5 separate regions of the Homo sapiens genome follow, and all the other regions are linked to region 1. Evidence: promoter capture Hi-C in 16 types of primary human blood cells and fetal thymus (Javierre and others, 2016). All regions are on one chromosome and are shown on one strand. The core of a region is centred on a gene start or on the middle of the fragment in contact, and the rest is flanking DNA. Distances in the headings are between cores, read along the strand shown. Region 1 holds the start of C21orf91-OT1 (C21orf91 overlapping transcript 1). Region 2 has its middle 20 kb from the start of BTG3-AS1. Region 3 has its middle 22 kb from the start of BTG3. Region 4 has its middle 39 kb from the start of BTG3. Region 5 has its middle 37 kb from the start of LINC03147.

Evidence for each region. Contacts are between HindIII fragments. The CHiCAGO score rates a contact against its expected background, and 5 or more counts as called.
Region 2: a fragment that was not itself captured here is called in contact with the fragment with the promoter of C21orf91-OT1 in region 1 in 6 of 17 cell types (naive B cells, activated CD4 T cells, total CD4 T cells and 3 more); the score reaches 5.7 in naive B cells.
Region 3: a contact is called between a fragment that was not itself captured here and the fragment with the promoter of C21orf91-OT1 in region 1, in 2 of 17 cell types (activated CD4 T cells and naive CD4 T cells). The highest score is 5.9, in activated CD4 T cells.
Region 4: a contact is called between a fragment that was not itself captured here and the fragment with the promoter of C21orf91-OT1 in region 1, in 1 of 17 cell types (activated CD4 T cells). The highest score is 6.0, in activated CD4 T cells.
Region 5: a fragment that was not itself captured here is called in contact with the fragment with the promoter of C21orf91-OT1 in region 1 in 3 of 17 cell types (activated CD4 T cells, naive CD8 T cells and total CD8 T cells); the score reaches 6.4 in activated CD4 T cells.

Annotation. Positions count from the first base shown.
Region 1 is chr21:17,791,115-17,793,758 of GRCh38, reverse strand. It overlaps C21orf91-OT1 (C21orf91 overlapping transcript 1), which reads left to right and starts at 1,250. Exons shown (of 4, transcript NR_038871.1): 1 at 1,250-1,282. It overlaps C21orf91 (chromosome 21 open reading frame 91), which reads left to right. Exons shown (of 5, transcript NM_001100420.2): 5 at 178-2,644. The coding sequence ends at 344. The region is part of intron 2 of LOC124900465 (a long non-coding RNA gene); the gene reads right to left. The HindIII fragment of the contact is 3,892 bases long and covers 1-2,644 here.
Region 2 is chr21:17,590,455-17,593,098 of GRCh38, reverse strand. It overlaps a transcript of CXADR not described here. Among named protein-coding and RNA genes, the nearest start is that of BTG3-AS1, 20 kb to the left of the region's middle. The HindIII fragment of the contact is 5,720 bases long and covers 1-2,644 here.
Region 3 is chr21:17,633,476-17,636,119 of GRCh38, reverse strand. It overlaps a transcript of CXADR not described here. Among named protein-coding and RNA genes, the nearest start is that of BTG3, 22 kb to the right of the region's middle. The HindIII fragment of the contact is 1,487 bases long and covers 568-2,054 here.
Region 4 is chr21:17,650,576-17,653,219 of GRCh38, reverse strand. No RefSeq gene overlaps it. Among named protein-coding and RNA genes, the nearest start is that of BTG3, 39 kb to the right of the region's middle. The HindIII fragment of the contact is 693 bases long and covers 1,008-1,700 here.
Region 5 is chr21:17,921,126-17,923,769 of GRCh38, reverse strand. It overlaps a transcript of CHODL not described here. Among named protein-coding and RNA genes, the nearest start is that of LINC03147, 37 kb to the right of the region's middle. The HindIII fragment of the contact is 1,574 bases long and covers 538-2,111 here.

The DNA of each region.
Region 1 (2,644 bases), core at 1-2,500:
GCCTAGGATGATCAGAACTGATATGCTTTGTAGAGAACAGAACTGTTTCCTTGGTATCAAATCAGTTTCATTGTGACACTTTGCCCAATGCATAGATTTCAGTTAGAGTTCTTGAAATATAAATCATAGCACCGGCTTTCTGCATACTAAAAATGAAAGTTTTTAAATCTTTTACAGAAGTTTTTGAAGAGTTAACTCACCAAGTGCAAGAAAAAGATTCTTTGGCCTCACAGCTCCATGTCCGCCACGTTGCCATCGAACAGCTTCTGAAGAACTGTTCTAAGTTACCATGTCTGCAAGTAGGGCGAACAGGAATGAAGTCGCACCTACCCATAAACAACTGACCTAAACAGACTTACTTCGTATGCCCTGCCCTTTATTGGTCTCCCAGACATGCAAACTTTGAAGAAGTTTGAAGAAAGTTGTGGTCCGTTTTTTTATGGTCATTAAATTTGCCAAACATAAGGCAGTATTTAACATCTTTGTCAAATAAAGCAGATCATTATACTCTAGTCTTCTAGGGCTAATCATTTTGGCTCATTTGGGGACTCTTTTTTCCCAGAATTACTAAACAAATTTTATCACATGTGACTACTTAAATATACTGTTACAGTGTCATTTTATTAAACATTTTAATTCACCTGTCAAAACAACAGATTAACTCCTTAGTGTAAACTACTAGAGATAATTTTTAAGAGGGAAATGGAATTCATATCACCTCTTATTTATTATGAGCAATATTTTAATATAAAAATTTTATATGTGAAAATGCTATTTTAGGTACTTTGCCATTCTCTTTATAAATGTGTATTTGAGTGGTTCTGTATATTTATTTACATTATCATGTGTGAATATGTTCACCCATATTTCAGGTCACTGCATTTTATTCTCTTAATACAATGTTTTCACAACGGTTACCTTGCTTTCCAAAGATAAATATATTTTGGATTAGAAATCTGAGTTGTTTTAATTTCTAATACCTCTTGTAAAAGAAGAATTAATAACTTTTTAAAGCAGTATTCAGGTAAATACAATACATTATTTTGTTTTCTAACAAAAGCAGTTCTTAGTTCAGGAAGAAAAGACTAATCTGGCTTCTATGTCAATTTGTCTCCATAGAAATGAAAGCCTCCTCTTGCTTCTTTCATTATTAGCTTCACACCAGTGACTGTGATGCATTAGAATTTGGACAGAGTAAGTCAAGCCTCACTTCCAATTCAAATATAATGTCTATCTTCAAATTGAGTGTGCTGTGAAATTGTTCTGTCTTTGAAAAAAAAAAGTAAGATTATTTTGTGTGCCACTTTGGGTAAAGTTTCAAGAATACTTAAACTGTCCAAATTGTATTATCACCATCATTGAACTTAGTGCTCAAAGAAAGCATTGTGAGGTATTTTTCTAAACTTTAGACTCTATAGAGAAATATAGGATTGTTCTACAGAAGAAAAGCAAAACTCCTAATTAAAAAAAAATAAACCTATGTATTAAGAGAATGTTCTCGTAAGTTGCCTATGATGCTTCCAAAGAGTTTTTATCTAACAGATTGTGCCAAACAGCTAGATAAATTTTAATAATGTATTACAGTAAAGGCTATAACCAATGCAGAATTAAAATGGGCTCTAAATTCTGTTTTTAACTCATGTTTAGAATGTACTTATGAGGTAGATCCTTGCTTGAAAGTATCTGCTGAAAAGCCCAGTAACGTGGCAGCTTCATGCATAAAGATATAAATGACATTTGCCTTAAATTTGGCAGCCTACCCTGGCTTGGGTCAGATTTTGTTGTTGAACACAAGAAAGTATTTAAGCAAAGAAACACTTCAGTTTAATTGAAAACAACTTTTTGTAATGCTGACGTGTTAAATTGGCCTGAGGGTATTAATTGATATCTGTTGATTTTGTTTTTCTTTGAAGTATAACATTACTTTTTGGAGGGAATTTTTGAAAGATGCTTTCGATTTCTCTCAATTCTTTAAGTCATGCAAAATGAATTTAAAATCCAGGGAGTATGGATGCATTGCCTTAGTTTTGATGAGCTTTAAATTAAATGTGTGCAATATCAAAATATTCAAACTTACAAGCTGGGTAAATACATTTCCTGATTAATATCTTAGTGCTTAATTGTTCCCACATTTTCAAATTTGACTTTACTCTTTTTTGGCGTAATTCAGTAAGATTGTTACCAGCCAGTGTGTTTGCACACATTTGGGTTTGTGTTTAGATGAGTTAGGGACAGTCATAAAAGTTGGGGATATGTTGCATTTGATATCAATAGTAGCATATTTCCAGAATATGAGCCATAAGTTGCAGTCCTGAATACAACAGTGTTATCCAAAGAAAGGAGTTTTCTGACAAATATACATAGCTTTGCTAATGAGTACGGAACAAGTGGATGAACGTGTGCATGTGCTAAGGTCTTAAGTGGGACTCTGATTTATTCCATTTAGATATTTCTACTTAAGCTCTAAAAAGGAGAGGTGCTCTTAAAAAAAACTTTGTGGTGCTGGTACTCACACTACTTTATTTGGATGAGTTCCTAGTAAAAAAAACTTTTTGTTGAAGTATTTTGCACAGCAGTTTATCCAAATGTTTGGTAAACTTATAATTTAGTCCTATGTTAGTTTTCTTAATCAAATATGCAATTA
Region 2 (2,644 bases), core at 94-2,593, 200 kb after region 1:
GGTAAATTTTTAAAAACTAAGATCAGCAATACTTTTTCCATCACCTTCATCTTTAAATTTGCAGTCTTAAATTATTTGACTTACCAGAAAAATCACAACTTGCTAATAAATCATTGAATGGCCATGGCTATTCCACAAATTATTGTTATTTTTAGGAAGATAAATTCTGTTGAAATACAAAACTGCACAAATCATAAAGGTATAGCTCAATAGTATGAAAATGTCAGTTTTTAAAGTTTGCAACTTCAGAAAACTCATTTTTAAACCTTAGAGACTTTTCTAGCTTTAATATTGTACTCTTTAAGCCATACACAATTTTAACATCTCTCTAAACCATATCTACTCTTTTCCTGAAATCTAGTGACTGCCTATTCAAACATGAGCATGTTTGTTTATTAGTGTCACAAGGGAGATGCGTTTTATCAATTTTTTTTAACCAAAGTTATTGAAAGAAAAAAAGGAAAAAAAAATTACTTTCAGAGTCATCACACTGCTTCCTTATGGGTCCTTGAGAGTTTTGTGGTGATAATGACAGATTTGTAGGTGATTGGCGTAAAGTTGGAAAGTTTCAAGTATTTTTATCATGAAGTTAGCAGACAGAATTTATTTATTGCTTTGCTTATGAGCAAATTGGTCCTCATCTGTAGGTTTTTCATCTGTATTTAACCATGTATGGAAAATACTCAAAAATTAAAAAAATACAAATTTTAAAATATAACTACATTGCATTAGGTATTATCTAGATTTAAAGGATGTACATAGGTTATATGCAAATACGAAGCCATTTTATATAAGGCACTTGAGCATCTGAGGATTTTGGTATCCAGGAGGGTCCTGGAACAAATCCTCCAAGGATACTGAGGGATGACTATATAGGTTTGTTGGGAAAATCAGAAGCATAATAGTGTAAAGAAGGAAGTGTTATTTTTGGCACATACCTAGTAGCCAGAACATTCCACGTTACTACAAAATCTCCTTAATTAGTTCTGACGATTAAATGACAGGGCCTCTTGGGGAAACCACTAGTTTTGAATTCAACTGCATACAGGTAGATGTTATTACTCATAGAAGATTCTGCCAGTGTTTCGACTACCCATCCTCCACCTTGTCCTGAAACTTATTTAGAGCAAAAGAAAGCTCTCATAAATATGGCTTTTCCAATCTATTCCTAATGAAATAAAACTGTCACTCAGCAACTGGGTCTTAAGTTCTAGCAAGCATGGGGTACAAAAGTTTGCCAAACCCTTTTTTAGTAGTAATTATGACTCTAGGTGCTTTGTTCTCTTAAGTTTGTCTCCCTTAGACAACTCCAAGGTGGCTCTTAAAACATGACTACATAATTTCAGCTTGAAAGCCTTATCGGGCTATTTCAAGCAGGAGTGGTTTATCACTGAACAATAATTTGTTTAAATTCTCCATTTTATTTTTGTATTTGTAGGCATAACTGCAAAGCTCTAAATTTTATAGGTTAAACTTGGATATTTGAAAAAAAAAGTTTTAGTAAGTTCTATCACATTAATACTAAAGCAGTGCTTATTTCTGGTTTATTAGTATAATATTTATCTCAAAGTATTTAACTTTTTAGTAAACTTCTGTGGTTCCAAGTTAAGATAATAAAGCATTTATGTTGACTTCTCAGCTAACAGAGGTATGTGTTAATTTCTTATTTTATGATTAGGAAGAGGGAAAAATACAAACACCTACCATGTACAGTTTATTGTGTAGCCATTCTGTCCATTTTACAGATAATAGTAAATAATTTTTTTAATTTTTATTACTACATGGCAACAACTTATTTAATCATCACAGCCTCAGGGGGTATGTACCATTATCATCCCAGTTAGATAAGGATTCCAGAGAAGTTAAAAATGCCCAAGATCACAGAAAACTAAATAATGAAGCTCTGACTTAAAACCCAGCTGGGCTTTTTTAAGGCCCATGCCATGGTACCTTGCCATCAGATTCATTTTGTTACCTATAAAATCTACCAAATCTTGAAACTTGTAAGAAGGTTCATTATCAGACCAAGATTTTTTTTAAAAAAAGGAACCAGTGCGAAGGTAAATTAATGAGAATATAAGACATTAAAGTATCTATTGATTAACCACTAATAAATCTTTGGCCAAGTTTCTTGTTACAAACTACTCAGATATATCTGAAGAGGGAGCTGGCTGATCATCTGATAGTAATTTTATTGCTGGAAATAGAAATTAAATTGCAATAAACAGTACAACCCAGTAGAGTGAAGACTGAGATGACAAAGCAAACTGTACCAATGACTTGTTACATGGAAAGATCACACATAATGAGTAGTAATTCCCAAGTCTGTCACAGTCTTTAACTTTTTTTTCTTACTTATCAGTTACTTGGCAATTTAACAGAGTGTACAACGTTAGTAAACTTTGTGCCAAATTTCTTCATATACTCTGGAATCTATTGCAATGGATGAAGCAATAACATTGTGAGGCTCTTACGGAAACACAACAATATCCCTGCATTGCATATGGCACTTTATGGCATTGACTCGTACTGCGAAGTTGTCACACAAGCACTCATGAGCACAAGGGAAGGCTCATGCAATTCCTCTTTAAAATATGTACATTTTATTCATTGCAGAAACCATCACCCACTTCCAAATTTAATA
Region 3 (2,644 bases), core at 62-2,561, 160 kb after region 1:
CAATTGCATTTCTTTATATTAGCAATAAACAATCAGAAATTAAAATTAAAGTTTGCCATGTACAGTGGCATCAAAACTGTAAAATACTTAAGGATAAATTCGACAAAAGATGTTCAAGACCTGTACACTGAAAACTATAAAACATTGCTGAGTAAAATTAAATGTTAAAGAAGACCTAAGTCAATTAAGAAATATACCATATTCCTAGATTAGATGACTCTATATTGTTAAGACGTCATTTCTTCCAAATTGATCTGTATATTCAAGGCATTCTAATAGAAATCCCAGCCAGCTACTTTGTAGAAGTAGCAAGCTGACTCTAAAGTTTAAATTAAAGTGCAGAAGATCTAGAACAGACAAAACAACTTGGAAGAAAAAAGAACAAAGTTAGAGGACATTTTGTGTGTGTGTGGTTTTCTTAAAAAGTATTTTTTTAGGAAGTAATTTCTAAGAGTAGAATTAGTGGATAAAAGGCTAGAAGAAAGCTCAATATCTTATTAAATTTCACAGCTCAAAAACTTTTTGATTTGAAATATTTTAAAAATAAATTTTAAGATCTCATAAGCTTGAGCAGTGCCCAAGTGATTCCACCCTCTGGAGGCCAGGTGATAATGAAATGAGATGTGGTGGGAGGATGGAGTAGGATTACCTGCTGGTGACATAAATGATGAATGGGAAAGAAAAATTCTAATTTACTAACTAAATTAATATTGTGGTAAATTTACTAATAAATAAAAGGAAAAACATCCTACTATATAGAAGATATTTTACAAATATTTGATGTTTATAATTATGCTTCAATAGAGCAAAGACTATCTTCACATTAATTTTTAGAAGCTCTAGAAGATGTACTGAACTGGGAACCTGCTGATGTAAACTTTAGTGCTCTGTGTGCCACTAACCAGACAATTGACTTTGGGCAGGACTTTACGTCTCTAGGTCTTAACCTTGATATTTTCAAAAGGAGGTTATTAAAGGACTATTTTGAGAGTTATGCCACAGATTCTATTTAGGCCTTTCTATTAATATTTCATTACTATTACATTTTGTTACAACTTCCATCCATTTCTTCCCTATAGAATCCAATTCCTTATAATTTATCTTTATTAAAGAGCAGTACCATGGGATTATGTCCAAGGAATCAAAGGTTCTAAAATGGTCTTCCCCTTTACCATCAAGGATCAGTAAAGAAGGCATTAAGCCCAGTATTGTGGCATGCACCTGTAGTTCTAACTACTCAGGATGCTTAGGCAGGAGGATTGCTGGAGCCCAGGAGTTCAGGGTTGCAGTGTACTATGACTGCACCTGTGAATAGTCACTGCACTATAGCCTGGGCAATATAGCAATATCACATCTCTAAAAAAAATTAAAAATTAAAAATTAAAGTTTGAAAAAGAAGACATTTAGCACATCTCTACCACTCATTATGGAAACTTCTGTTTTTGCTTCTTTCTGCAGTCCTCCAAATGTAGTCTGTGATGTATCATAGGCATGGAATACCACCATTATTTCTCTCTAGTGATTTCTAGAACAGTCTAGAGTATTGGAGAATACATAAATAAACTAAAAACAAGTTCAAGTCCACCAACTGACCTTTCTCTAGCTACATCTGCAAAGCTCTGTCTCATATTTTTGTAAGTTCTGATAGCTTACTTACTGGGAAAACTACTGGGCTCATAATAATTTTACTCCGAAAAGAGCCCTGTTTAGGCTATCCTATTTTAGTGCAGAGAGTCAGACTTTAAAAAGATACGCAACATGAACAAAATTTTGCAAAGTCTTAAAAAGTACTTTGTCTTTTAGCTATGATAGAATGAGGTACAACTACATTATTCTGCCCAAGGTAGGCCCCAGATGAAGGATCCCCCCCATATAGGACTTCACTATTTACGTAGAATTTAAGAGATAGGAAATCTCTCCTCTGAAGATCATACTCTTGGGTTCATGAGCTTTTAAAATTTTATTTCCTCCTCTGTTATTCCAGACTATGCCATCAGCCCAAATGACCTGCTAATCTTTACCAGTGTATGTGAGGCTATTCTGAGATATAAGCTTCACATAGCTAATGAAAACTTCAGAGCTAGTCTCACGTTGTTGTAAGGGCAAAAGGAACTTTCTTTTCACCTCCTGAAGGTTTGAGAATTCGAATCTATAAACAAACTTACAATAGACAGATTAATGGGAGAACAGGCATACAAATTTATAAATGTACAAGCACATGGGAGTCAGACAAAGTATAAAACTCAAAGAAGGGCCAGATTATTGAAGGTTAAATACCTTCTTCATAAGGCAGAGGGAAGGAGGGGATGTAGGTAATTTTAGAGGAAGAATAGATAATTTTTAGGGGAGATGAATTGGCTCAAAGAACAGACAATAGCCTGGGACAAAGTTAGTCTGGGCTCTGAGAGAGATGGTGACAATTTATGAGAAGTTTAGTGGCAGAATTGCACTGTGAACAAAGGCTGTCTAATTACGCAGATAAAGTCTCTCAGGCACCATTCCTCAGAAGAATAGATGAAAAGTGTGTCTGGGACTATGTGGGGACAATCTTTTCTTTTAATTTTTTTTGAGGGGTCTTGCTTTGTTGCCCTGGCTGAAGTGCAGTGGCACGATCACAGCTCACTGCAGCCTCCGCCCAGCTCAA
Region 4 (2,644 bases), core at 105-2,604, 140 kb after region 1:
ATGGTGATTTGCTGCACCCATCAACCCATCATATACATTAGGTATTTCTCCTAATGCTATCCCTCCCCTTTCCCCCAAGCCCCTGACAGGCCCCAGTGTGTGATGTTCCCCTCCCTGTGTCCGTGTGCTCTCATTGTTCAACTCCCACTTATGAGTGACAACATGCAGCGTTTGGTTTTCTGTTCCTTGTTAGTTTGCTAAGGATGATGCTAAGCTTTATCCATGTCCCTGCAAAGGACATGAACTCATCCTTTTTTATGGCTGCATAATATTCCATGGTGTATATGTGCCACATTTTTTTTATCCAGTCTATCATTCATGGGCATTTGGGTTGGGTCCAAGTCTTTTCTATGGTGAATAGTGCTGCAATAAACATGCGTGTGCATGTGTCTTTATAGTAGAATGATTTATAATCCTTTGGGTATATACCCGGTAATGGGATTTCTGGGTCAAATGGCATTTCTGGTTCTAGATCCTTGAGGAATTGCCACACTGTCTTCCACAACGGTTCAACTCCCACCAACAGTCTCGTTTTTAAGGGGCTGAGCTTTTCTTATACATGGAAGGTTTGTTTTGTTTTGTTTAGCTTTTAAGCAAAGCTTTTCAGTTTGTAACTTGCTGAGTATTTTTCTTTTGAGAATAACTGGAGAAATATTGGCCACTGATTTTTATGTATAATACAGGTGTGTTTTTCCAGTTTGTTGGTTCCTGTCCCCTCTCTGTTAACTGTTTGACTATTGGAACAGTATGTCTTCAATAATGCAATGTTATTTTGAGATATGCATATTAGTATACCCTTAGTTATTCTTGAAATAAAATCAATCTCTTAGCTTATCGTTGCAGTGGAAAAAAATTGAAGAGAAAAAAGATGAAGAAAATCTAAACCTGCTGTCCAAATGTTGTGTGTTGGAGAAGATTTTCTTTCTCTCTGTTTATGAGATTTTCTAATGATAGCATCACAGACAAATTCCTTTCACCTTTAGTGTTGCTATCTTCTCTCTTAAGCTTCCCATAGGTTTTCTGTCTTACATCATGACTTCTGCCTCCAAATTCTTCCATTCAATTTACTTTTATGAAATTGAATGGAATTCAATTTCCCATGATTCACCTGCCTGTATTTCTTGCTTAGAGATATGAACCTAGTACTTCTAGATAGCTTTATAATTATAATATAAAATTCTTGAAAACTAGAAGTATGTCTTGTGCTTTAAAAACCTAGCACCTGATTCCATTTTTGCAACACTATGAACACATATAATGTGAATATTTCCTAGTGACAATTTATTGAGCACCTTCTATTATGGTGGTGATATAGTCACTCTACACAGGTCATTTGATTAAATGCTAGAAACAACTCTGCAAGGTGAGTACAATAATCACCATTTTGCAGATGAACAAATGGTAAGGGAAAGAAAAAGCAGTGAAAATTTCACCTTAGCTCTGAGAAAAAGAAGTATCACAAATTTTGTTTAAATCAAATTGAGCTGCGTCAGCAAGTAGGAAATTGCATTTTAATCATTTCTGGACTTCCCTCCTCCAATTCCACTTCCAGGTGACACAGAAATCGGGAGTAGAGATGTCTTCTTAGGTCCTAAATCCTGAAAGAAAGGTGTATGGCCTCCACTGGTCCTCACTGATATGCTTATTGTCCAGGCTCTCATGATCTAGTCCCTGAGGGAAGTGGTACTCACCGATAAGCTTGGACAAAGGTCTCTGACTTCTCTATCAAGGCAGTTCCTGAGACCAGGGCTCCTAGAGGTCTTCCCTTTGTCCTGAGGCAATCCACCCAACTAGGAGTTAACAAGCAGGACCTGGGGGCTACTTTCTTTGCAAACCACCCAAACTCCCTTCCTTCTTGTCTCGAGGAATTTGCTACCTGAAGTCAATTCTGCCTCCACCTCCCAGCACCCCCTAGAAGACCTCATCTTTCTTTTCCTCCACTCTACGTGATGTGGCATAATCCCTGCAGTAGGTCTAATCATCCAAACAAAACAAAACAAAAATGGAATGAAGCTGTTCTTGGGGAACACCTGCTTTCCATTCGACCATCCAAAGCCCCTGGAACACAATGGCGTGGCTATTTTCTTGGAATGGGAAGGGGGAAAATACCTTTGAGCAGTGAAAACGAAACACGTATCTGTGGAGGAAAACAAAAAGATGTATAACTTCCTATATTTTGTGGGGGCAGGGAATGGGGAGTTGGTGGTCAAAGGGCACAAATGTATGATTAGGAGAAATAAGTTTCGAAATCTATTGCACGGCAGAGTAACTACAGTCAGTATTGTATAGTATATTCCAAAATAACTTAGAGTAAATTTCAAATGTCTCACCACAAAAAAAAATTATAAGTAAGTGAGGTGATGGATATGTTAATTAGCTAGATTTAGTCACTTCATATTGTATAGATACATAAAACATAACATGGTGCCCCATGAATGTATACAATTATGATTTGTCAATTAAAAAAAATACATACATATATTTATATACTCCAATTTAAATACACATATACATATGTATATAAACATAAATAAGCAGGTATGTATATAATTATATTTATAACATATGCAGTTGAATGAATGTCTGTGAGAAAAGGAGATTTTCACTGTAAAAAAAGTTAACTTCCATTAAGAGAACCTGTCTC
Region 5 (2,644 bases), core at 75-2,574, 130 kb before region 1:
TGAAGAACTGGCCAGGCACAGTGGCTCAGGCCTGTAATCCCAGTACTTTGGGAGGCTGAGGTGGGCGAATCACGAGGTCAGGAGTTTGAGACCAGCCTGACCAACATGGTGAAACCCCGTCTCTACTAAAAATACAAAAAATTAGCTGGACATAGTGGCGGGCACCTGTAGTCCCAGCTACTCCAGAGGCTGAGGCAGGAGAATTGCTTGAACCCAGGAGGCGGAGGTTGCAGTGAGCCGAGATTGTGACCCCACACTCCAGCCTGGGCAACAATGCGAGACTTCGTCTCAAAAAAAAAAAAAAAAACTGAAGAATTAGGGAAAATGTTATATAAAATGTCCTCTGAGATCTTGTGGGAAAGTTGTTAACATCTTTTTACTTTTTTTAATTTATTTTACAAATCTGTAAAATTGAGCCCATGCTTACACCTACCTCATAGGGCAGTTGTCAGCATTTATGGTGATAATGCAGACTTTGGCAGGAAAAAAAAAAAGAGGCAGAAAAAGACAAAGTCTGCTGTAAATAATGGAAAAGCTTGTGAAAGGAAAATAAATCTTGAGGCCCCCAAATCACTAAGCTAAAGGGAAAAGTCAAGCTGGGACTACTTAGGGCAAACCTGCCTCCCATTCTATTCAAAGCCAACCCCCACCCCTGCTCACTGAGATAAATGCATATCTCATTGCCTTCTTTGGAGGGGCTAATCAGAAACTCAAAAGAATGTAACCATTTGTTTCTTATCTACCTATGAGCTGGAAGTCCCCTCCCTGCTTGAAGTTGTCCCACCTTTGCTTCCAATTGTCCCACTTTTCCAGAAGGAACCAATGTTCATCTTTCATATGTTGACTGATGTCTCCCGTCTCCCTAAAATGAATAAAAGCAAGCTGTGCTCTGACCACCTTGGGCACGTGTCTTCAGGACTCCTGAGGCTGTCACGGCTGCATGTCCTCAAACTTGGCAAAATAAACTCTCTAAATTAACTGAGACCTGTCTCAGATATTCAGAGTTCGCAACCTTTAGGAGCTACATCTCAGTGCATTCAGTAAAAGAATAAACTTAAAGCTAAGACCTCATAAGGAATGTCACCCCACATTCCTGAAATCTAATGTAAAACATTGCTGTTGTTATTGTGTTTAATTTCCACATAAATAGCAGTAATACTATCACACTACATGGGCAATTAAATAACCCTTTATTTAATTAAAGTACTTCATAGATAAGTGTGCTAACAACCTTATCAGAGCTACCACTGATGAGTTCCAAACCAGATTTATCAACCCATCTTGAGTGTCTCCTCTGATTCTTCAGCCTCATCTATTTTGTGGGCCATTGGCTGCTTTCTCTGTAGTAATTGCAGCCACAGCAAGTCATACTAGGCTGTCCAGACATCCAGAATCTCTGGGCCTCGCTCCACCTCTAAAGCAGTGGAACAATGTTGTAAATTTTCTCTGGAATGACCTTTAGCCAACAGGAGACAGGAGACATGAGTGAGCTCACAGATAAATTTCCCCCACAATTTTCCATCTGTTGGGTTGTTCTGAGGTACAGTGTTTTTTTTTTTTTAGAGCCATAAGCAGTGGCCCACTTGGTATATCACCTTGAATTTGCTTCTTAGACTTCTCTGTCTCACTTCTTCTTTTCTTCACTCTAACTGTACTGCCATGTACCTCCTAATTAAGCATTATCACTTCAACTTTCCCTAAGATTCTTTTGGTTAAGTTGAACATGAACTTAACTGTAAATAAGAAACCAGAAATAGCATCATATTTCATAACTTTCCTTTATTGTGGAATAAATCTGGACAATCTGTCAATTTATTCTTTTTCTTGGAAAAAATAGAAATTTGGAGTGTTCACTGAGATAATTTGGTAAAGCACTAAATGCTTATTACTACTCACAGTATGATTAATTTAAACATCTGCTGTCCACATGCTGCATCAACCTAGTCCAGCTCAGCATTATCTCTTGCCTGGACTTGTACCAAAAATTCCTAGCTGGCCTTCCTGACTGTAGCCTTAACCTGTGTCAACACATTGCCCTCCCTGCTGCCAGAATGATTCATCAGTCAGGATATACTAACTGCTGTAATAAACAACCCCTAAGTCCCAAAGCTTAACACAACATCTGCCTATTTCTCACACGTCTCAATTCAATGAGAGACAAAGGTGGATAAATGTCTATTCCACCTAATCTTTTAAGGACTTGCTTCCTTCTTCCTAGTGGCTCCTTCATCCCCCTAGAGTTTACATCCTATTCTAGATACTGTACCTCTCACCTGCCAAGTAGCAAAGGAAGAAAGCATGGAAGATTGTACACAAGAGGGTTAGACCCCCTGCCTATAAGGGGCACACATCACTTCTGCCCAACACACCCTTGGTGGTTAATTTTATGTGTTAACTTAGATGATGTTTCTGAATGGCATTAACATTTAAAACAGTGAACTTTGCATAAAGAAGATTGCCCTCCATAATATAGATGAGGCTCATCCGATCAGTTGAAGGCCTGAATAGAACAAAAAGACCAGCCTCCTCAAGCAAGAGGGAATTCTTCAGCAAACTACCTTCACATTTCATTGGCATCATAGACTCTCCTGAGCCTCTGCCTGCCAGTTCACACTGCAGATTTTGGACTTCCCAGCCTCTATAA